Linked DNA regions of Homo sapiens: regions 1 and 3 are each linked to region 2. Evidence: promoter capture Hi-C in 16 types of primary human blood cells and fetal thymus (Javierre and others, 2016). All regions are on one chromosome and are shown on one strand. The core of a region is centred on a gene start or on the middle of the fragment in contact, and the rest is flanking DNA. Distances in the headings are between cores, read along the strand shown.

The links. Contacts are between HindIII fragments. The CHiCAGO score rates a contact against its expected background, and 5 or more counts as called.
Region 1: a fragment that was not itself captured here is called in contact with the fragment with the promoter of CD180 in region 2 in 2 of 17 cell types (total B cells and naive B cells); the score reaches 12.5 in total B cells.
Region 3: a fragment that was not itself captured here is called in contact with the fragment with the promoter of CD180 in region 2 in 10 of 17 cell types (total B cells, non-activated CD4 T cells, activated CD4 T cells and 7 more); the score reaches 17.6 in total B cells.

The regions. Positions count from the first base shown.
Region 1 is chr5:68,196,507-68,199,206 of GRCh38, reverse strand. LINC02219 (long intergenic non-protein coding RNA 2219) reads right to left here. Exons shown (of 3, transcript NR_105003.1): 3 at 800-1,017. Among named protein-coding and RNA genes, the nearest start is that of LINC02219, 8.0 kb to the right of the region's middle. The HindIII fragment of the contact is 1,030 bases long and covers 839-1,868 here.
Region 2 is chr5:67,195,400-67,198,099 of GRCh38, reverse strand. CD180 (CD180 molecule) reads left to right here and starts at 1,301. Exons shown (of 3, transcript NM_005582.3): 1 at 1,301-1,548. The coding sequence starts at 1,459. RefSeq lists an enhancer at 2,328-2,477. The HindIII fragment of the contact is 10,485 bases long and covers 1-2,700 here.
Region 3 is chr5:68,245,997-68,248,696 of GRCh38, reverse strand. All of the region lies in intron 2 of PIK3R1 (phosphoinositide-3-kinase regulatory subunit 1), which reads right to left. Among named protein-coding and RNA genes, the nearest start is that of PIK3R1, 32 kb to the right of the region's middle. The HindIII fragment of the contact is 6,788 bases long and covers 1-2,700 here.

The DNA of each region.
Region 1 (2,700 bases), core at 104-2,603, 1.0 Mb before region 2:
CTCCGACTTCCTGGCTACAGTGGATTGGTCTGAAGAAGGACAGATAGTCTACTTGAGTTTCTACCCCAGGATTTTAGGTTTTGTACTGAAAGAGTTAAGATTGTTTCCCTCTGATGTCTGAGCTCTAGGGCTTAAACCTCAGGAGCTGTCACTTGTCATATTTTTGTTCATGTTAAGAAGAAAAGTGATGGGAGCTAGTTTCTGAGAACAGAGAAAGAAAAACAAAGCAGATGCACAAGAGAAGAAGAGCTGGGGAGAGGGAACTGTGAAGTCATGAGTTCGTGATTCTAGCTTTTCCTTAACTCTAGCCACAGATTTATTCTTATATTCCATAAGATACCTTTATATTCTTATAATAATGTTATTTTTGTTTAAACTCATTGGAGTGTGGTTTCTGTTACTTGGCATTAAATATCTTCAGAAATACATAATAGACCGGGTGCAGTGGCTCACGCCTGTAATCCCAGCACTTTGGGAGGCTGAGGTGGATGGATCACCTGAGGTCAGGCATTCAAGACCAGCCTGGCCAACATGGTGAAACCCTGTCTCCACTAAAAATACAAAAAATTAGCTGGGGGTGGTGGCGGGTGTTTGTAATTCCAGCTACTCGGCAGGCTGAGGCAGGAGAATTGCTTGAACCCAGGAGACGGAGGTTGCATTGAGCCGAGATAACACTACTGCACTCCAGCCCAGGTGACAGAGTAAGACTCTGTCTCCAAAAAAAAAAAAAAAAAAGGAAATACATAATATCAAAAATTTTAAAGAGAAGATGAAACAAATAGTTTTGCTAAGAAAGTAGTTATACTTTATGAGAAGTTTATTTTCTTATCAATAAGCTTCTTCAAGTTACAATCGAGGGCTGATTAAGTAGGCCAATGACACGGACTTAGCATGTTCAATAGTTCAAGATTGAGTGAGTTCAAAGGTATTTTTATTGTTGCTTTTGTGGTTATTGTTGCTGTTGTGTGTTTTAATGAATAATCCTTAGCAAGGACTGGTAAATGAAGTACGGGTGACCTACAGAAAAGAGAGGTAAAGAACATGCATGACAAAATGAAAGCAAACCTCACATGCCCAAATGAAAACGTACCCTCACTCTAAACATTTCTGATTCTAGTCCTCGTCCCTGTATCAACAAGTGGCACAATTATCCATCTTGTGTGAGCAGAACACTGATAGTCATTTGCTCTCTTTTTTCCCATTATAGAATCCATCATTTCATCATTCTGCCAGTCTCAGTGTTTTAACCAACTAAAAATCTTGTAAATATATGTATGTTTTTCATCTCCGTTGATGCTACCCTAATCCTCACCTGCACCATTTATCAATAGCAGTCACTGGCTAGACACAGTGGCTCATGTCTATAATCCCAGCACTTTGGGAGGCCGAGGCGGGTGGATAACCTGAGGTCAGGAGTTTGAGACCAGCCTGGCCAACATGGCGAAACCCCATCTCTACTAAAAATGTGAAAACTAGCTGGGCGTGGTGGCAGGCGCCTGTAATCCCAGCTACTTGGGAGGCTGAGGCAGGAGAATCACTTGAACCAAGGAGGCAGAGGTTGCAGTGAGCCGAGATTGTGAGATTGCACTCCAGACTGGATGACAAGAGGGAAACTCCATCTCAAAAAAATAAAAATAAAAAAATAGTTGTCACTGAATTGGTCTCCTTTTTGAACTCTCAATCACTAGCATTGATAACTCCATGGTTCTAGCCAGAGGATGCTTTTTGAAATGTAAATCTGGAAATGGCTTCCAACTCCCTCTAAAGATTCATAGCATACATATTATCTTCAAACATTTTAGTGACTTCTCATTGCTATAGGTCAATGATTCTCACCCTTGTTTTCATGATAAAATCACCTGAAAGCTTTAAAAAAAATACTTATGCCTGGTTCTCACTTCCAGAAGTTTGGATTTGATGGTTCTGGAATGGGATCCTTTAATCAGTATTTTAAAATGCTTTGTAGGTGGTTCTGACATGTAGCCGAAGTTGAAAATAACTGCTCTAGGCATACAGGCCAGAATCCTGATCACAGGCTTACACAATCTTGCCCCCGCTTACTTCTCTTCGCTCGTCACATATCACACCCCCATCCTCTGTTCTCCAGCCATGCTGGTCTTCTTTCGGTTCCTCAAAATCACCACACTCCTTCCTGCTGCTGACTGGGCTTCTGAGCATGTTCTTTCTGTGGAGAACATCCCTGCTTCTTCCGATCTCAGCTCTGCACCACTTCCTTAGGGAAGCCTTCCTTGATCTCTCTGACTAGGTAAATTCCAGGTCCTGGGGTCATCAAACTCTGCACCTTTTCCTTGTGGCATTTGTCACAGTATAGTTTTATATTTATATGTAACTCTTTGAATAATGTTTGTCTTCCCCACTAGAGTATAAACTCCGTGAGGGCAGGGACCATGTTGCCTTTACTCTCCACTGTTATCTCTGCTCTCTATTCTACATTGGGAATGAAGGAGACTCTCTATGTGTTGAGTGATCAAGTGAGCAGTTCGTGATGGGGAGGGTAATGATTACTGAGGGTATTACCGAGGGTAGCCCAGCTGGTTGAGGAATTAAAATTCAGCACCGGCCAGGCGTGGTAGCTCATGCCTGTAATCACAGCACTTTGGGAGGCCAAGGCGGGTGTATCACCTGAGGTCAGGAGTTCGGGACCAGCCTGGTAAACATGGAGAAACCCCCCTCTCTCCT
Region 2 (2,700 bases), core at 52-2,551:
CAGATGAACAACATTCTTCGCCCCATCTACTCTTCAGCTCCTTCAGGAGGCAAAGTCCTTTCTTAAACTGTGAAGAGTAGCAGCATAGTCTCTGCAGTGAGATTTTCTGGATCTGAAGCCCTAATCTACCACTCTCTAATTGTGTGGCTTGGAGAGATCATTTAATTTCTCTTAAGCATCAGTTTCTACATCTATAAAATGAGGGAAATAATAATATCTCTCTTATAGAATATATGGAAATATTCGAGGATAGGAAAATGCAGCAAAAAACTGCATTAAACCTGACCCAGTGTCTGACACATAGTAAGGACTCAATAAATGGCAGATACTATAGTCATTTGATTCATCATAGTAATACTGTAGAGGTGGTGGTGGTGGTGGTGGTGGTAGTAGTAGTAGTAGCAGTAGTTAAGTCATTGTGAACTCTGATACTAAGAACTGGGCTCTTGGAAATGGAGTGGGAGAACAGTAACACCAAATATATCCTGTATGCCAGAGGGTTGAAGAACAGACAGAACAGGTAGCTAAATGCAGCCTATTGAGGAATGTTTGAACTTTGGCTTTCTTTAATCATTGCCACATCTTGCTCCATAATAAGGGTAATTGTAATCCTGCTTCAAAGCTATTTCTAAGAAGAAATAGAGCCAAGGCTGGCATCCCTAACTCTACTCTCCTTTAGCCAGGCTGCTCTATCTATGGCAGTGTCCCCTACTTCCCCAGGCCAGGTTAGGAGGGAACAAGAGAGTCCACCCCAACTGCTTTAACAAGCCTGAACCGCCAGGTCAAGAGATGAAGTAATCTTCCCCCTATACGAAGACCAGAGGTGGGGATGGACAAGGTGGCCAAGGCAGCAGCTGAGGCTCAAGGAGCAGATACACTCTCAAGCCTGCTCCCTCCTGCTCCAGTTCCCAGCTCAGCAGGTGCCACTGAAGGGCTCAGTTCTTCAGTCTGCCCCTGCAGAGTGCTCTGCCCTTCCATGTTCTCTGACACCTCTTCTATTCACTCACCTAGGACAACTAAGAAAGTGGCCTCCTTGGTGAGTAGAGCTTCCACAGCCTCTCTCGGGGAAAAGGACCAGAAGCTGTTGGAGTTGGCCAAATGCTTGAAGTTGGCATAAAGTCAATTGGAACCATCACAATGAGAGTCTGTGTGATCAGCCCAAAAGGACTGCACAACTGATTCATGTTCAGTGCCAGGAAATGCAACGGGCCATTCTGGGGTTGGGTCCTCAGTTATTTTTGGCAAAGATGGGTGGTATGCAAAAGGGACTTCCTTTTTTTTTTTTTTTTTTTTTTCCAGCACAGAGCCACAGAATGCTGAGCAGTCAACAGCATTTCTTGTTCCAAGATCACCCTTCTGAGTACCTCTCTGGCTGCCAAATTGCCAGGGCCTTCACAGTTTGATTCCATTTCTCAGCTCCAAGCATTAGGTAAACCCACCAAGCAATCCTAGCCTGTGATGGCGTTTGACGTCAGCTGCTTCTTTTGGGTGGTGCTGTTTTCTGCCGGCTGTAAAGTCATCACCTCCTGGGATCAGATGTGCATTGAGGTGAGTCCAAACTGTTTGTCTTTATGCAGATTAAACTGTCTGAAAATTTTGAGATTTAGCACGCAGTCCAATCTGAGCCTTGGCATCCCAATATCTAGTGTCTTTAAAAAGGAAATAAGGTGTATATATAATTTTTTCATTATTGTGAGAAAGGAGCCAAAGAACTCTGCCAGGGGATCATCTGGTGGCATCTTAATAGGAAGCAAAGAGAATTTTTCTCCTCTTCAAACAATTCCACCCAAATAATCCCAAGTGGGTCATAAGATATTAATAGGGTCTGTGTGCACAAAGCAGACCCCTAAACCTGCCTCAACCTAGGGGAGCTGTTGGTTTAACATCCCCACTCTCACATGGCCTCTATCCCAATGAGTCCTTTGGTCTCCTCTCAGGGTGAGAATTAGTAAAGACAGCGCTGTGCCAGGTTTTCGAGCATTGAAAAGATCACTCTGAATGAGTCTGGCTCTCTCTTGGACTTGGACAGCCTTCCATCTGTTTTACTAACCCATAGGAGGAAAATCTGAGAATAGAGCCAAATTGCACCTTCTGTTTTGGACCATAGCAATATTTATCAACCTGTGGGAAGTTCTTGGAGGGGATAATGAGAGAAAAAGGAGAAGGGCCTCCGTCTCTTGCCATCCTCTAAAATGCTTCAAACTTCCTCCCACTTTCTCTGACCCCACAAGTGATCAATACCACGTGGCCTGTCAGACAAGGGCTGCATACAGGAGGAACCATGAGTCTTGGTGGCTTGGTGAGCTGCTGGTCTGGGTTGAGGTAAAAAGAAGAGTAAGAGCCAGGAATAGCCAGATGTGGAGTTGCCCTGGGGCAGGACTAGAAGGAGATCAGAGGATCAGGAAGAGCAGAGCAAAGCCAGCACTGGGGTAAGGCTCAGAGCTGGGTGAGCAGAGCCTTGTTGGTCTGGCATTAGGATGGAATCAGCAGCAGGCCAAGAGGAGGCATCATGCCAATGAGAAATGAAGGCTGGGAAGGTGTGTGTTGCTTTGCTTGGGCTGTCATAACAAATGCCACAGACTGGGCCAGGCGTGGTGGCTCACGCCTATAATCCCAGCACTTTGGGAGGCCAAGGTGGGTGTATGCCTTGAGACTGGGAGTTCGAGACCAGTCTGGGCAACATGGCAAAACCCCATCTGT
Region 3 (2,700 bases), core at 190-2,689, 1.1 Mb before region 2:
CTTAGTTCCCAGTGGTGGATAAATAATTTTGCCAAAACAATTGACCAAACATGTCATGCCAACAAAGGGTATCAAATGATTATCTGGGTAGTGCCTTAGAATTCCAAATATGAACAGACGTAAAGAAAAAATAAGGACACTAACAAAACAGTATTGGCTTTATTCATAAATTTGTTAGGATGTCCACCAACACACACAATCACAAATAGATTACTAATCTTTGGTAATCTTAATTTTCTCAAGAATTGAAGGGTGTTTAGATACAGAGGACAATGAGGGGAGGTGGATTTAAGATAATATTAAGAATCAAAAACTGCTATGCTAGTGTTTTATATTTAAATCTAAGTCATCTTAGTAACTGAATTCATATATCTATCCAGATAGTGGGGAAAACACCATTAAAAAGAACATTGTTGGCCAGGCATGGTGGCTCATGCCTGTAATCCCAGCACTCTCGGAGGCCGAGGCAGATGGGTCACTCTTGAGGTCAAGAGTTCAAGACCAGTCTGGCCAACATGGCAAAACCCCATCTCTACTAAAAATACAAAAATTAGCCGGGCTTAGTGGCATGTGCCGGTGGTCCCAGCTGAGGCAGGAGAATTGCTTGAACCCAGGATGCAGAGGTTGCAGTGAATTGAGATCCCGCCACTGCACTCCAGCCTGGGCAGCAGAGCAAGACCCTGTCAAAAAAAAAAAAAGAACATTTTCCCAGTATGGAAATACTTGAGAATTTTCAAAACAAAAAACTGTTTTTGTTTTATCAAATGCACCTTAAGGACATTCAATGACTCTGGGGCAATGATGCCGTTTAGGGCAGTTATCTTTGTATGGTGCCCATGATCTGGAAAAACAGGCCCTGGCACCAAAGGCCAACGTCACCACTGGCCTGTCCCGTTGGGCAGGAAATAATGGATTTCAGAGGCTGGAATGAAGGAAAGCCCAAACTAACAACAGAGTTAGAAAAATGTTTTCAGCCTGTAGTCCCAGCTACACCAGAGGCTGAGGTAGGAGGATCAGGTGACCCCAAGATGTCAAGGCTACAGTGAGCCATGTTGATGCCACTATACTCCAGCCTGAGTGACAGAGGAAGACCCTGTCTCAAGAAAAAAAAAAAAAAAAGGCCACGTGCAGTGGCTCACACCTATAATTTTAGCCCTTTAGGAGGCTGAGGCAGACAGATCACTTGAGACCAGCCTAGGCAACATGGTGAAACCCCATCTCTACAGAAAAATTAGCCAGGCATGGTGGCGCACGCCTGTAGTCCCAGCTACTCAGGAGGCTGAGGCGGGAGGATCAACTGAGCACAGGAGGTTCAGACTGCAGTTAGCCGTGGTGGAAAGAAAGGCAGAAAGACAGAAAGAAAGAAAAAAGAAAAATGTTTTCAAAATCAATCAAGCCTCTAAAATGTGTCCAATTAAAATCCACTGATCTATTAAAATGGAATTCTATCTCAAAAAATATAATTTTAAGAGAGACCATGAGAGCAGCATACCTCCTCTACTCAAAAAACTATTATGACTTAGAGATGAGCCATGATAAATTCAAAGCACAGGGAAAAGTTCCATATCAAATCACATATTTCCAAGCCCCTTATCCAAAAGCACCGCTGAAAGAATTCTATTTCGATCACACTACTAACTACCTGTGAGAACGGCAAACACCTTTTAGTTTTAGTTCTTCCTTTTTACCAATAGGTGGCAAGATTTATTGCTAAGACAATTTAGGCAAAGGATTCAGCTTCAGAAAGACTGCCTTTCCTCTCCCCTCTTAAGGCTCAGCATTTTTTTTTTTCTCTTACTAATGAGCTATTTGACAGTAATCATAAAACCAAAATATTTGTTATTTATTAAGCTACTGCAATTTTGGATTTGTAAAGGAAAAAGAAGTCCTGGAAATCTTTTAAAAAGACACACAACGTGGTGGCAGGCGCCTGCAGTCCCAGCTACTCGGGAGGCTGAGGCAGGAGAATGGCGTGAACCCAGGAGGCGGAGCTTGCAGTGAGCCAAGATCGCACCACTGCACTCCAGCCTGGGCGACAGAGCGAGACTCCGTCTCAAAAAACAAAAAATAAAAAAGACACACATGGACGGGCGCGGTGGCTCACGCCTGTAATCCCAGCACTTTGGGAGGCTGAAGCGGATGGACCGTTTGAGGTCAGGCGTTCCAGACCAGCCTGGCTAACATGGTGAAACCCTGTCTCTACTAAAAATACAAAAATTAGCTGGGCGTGGTGGCGGGCACCGGTAATCTCAGCTACCTGGGGGGCTAAGGCAGGAGAATCGCTTGGGCCCGGGAGGCAGAAGTTGCAGCGAGCCGAGATCGCGCCACTGCACTGCGGCTTGGGCGACGAGTAAAACTCTGTCTCAAAAAAAAAAAAAAAAAATATACACACCAAGTGGACAAAGCAAAAGAGACTCTGCAGGGAAGGGGATGGCTAGGCATAGTTTTGACATTATTATGACTTCCAAATAAGGTATAAAGTATAGAATACACCCATACAGCATACTAAAGACTTTGGAATGGCTCACAACCAAACTTGTACGGTAATGAAGATATATAATGTAAAAAGAATACAGGTGTTTACCAGAAAACATCCTTCAAGGGACAAGACTTATAAATGCAATGGAAACTGTCTCAAGAAACAAAACTTTATTCCAGTGGTCTCTTTGGGGAAACATGTACACAGCTATTCAGCAAATT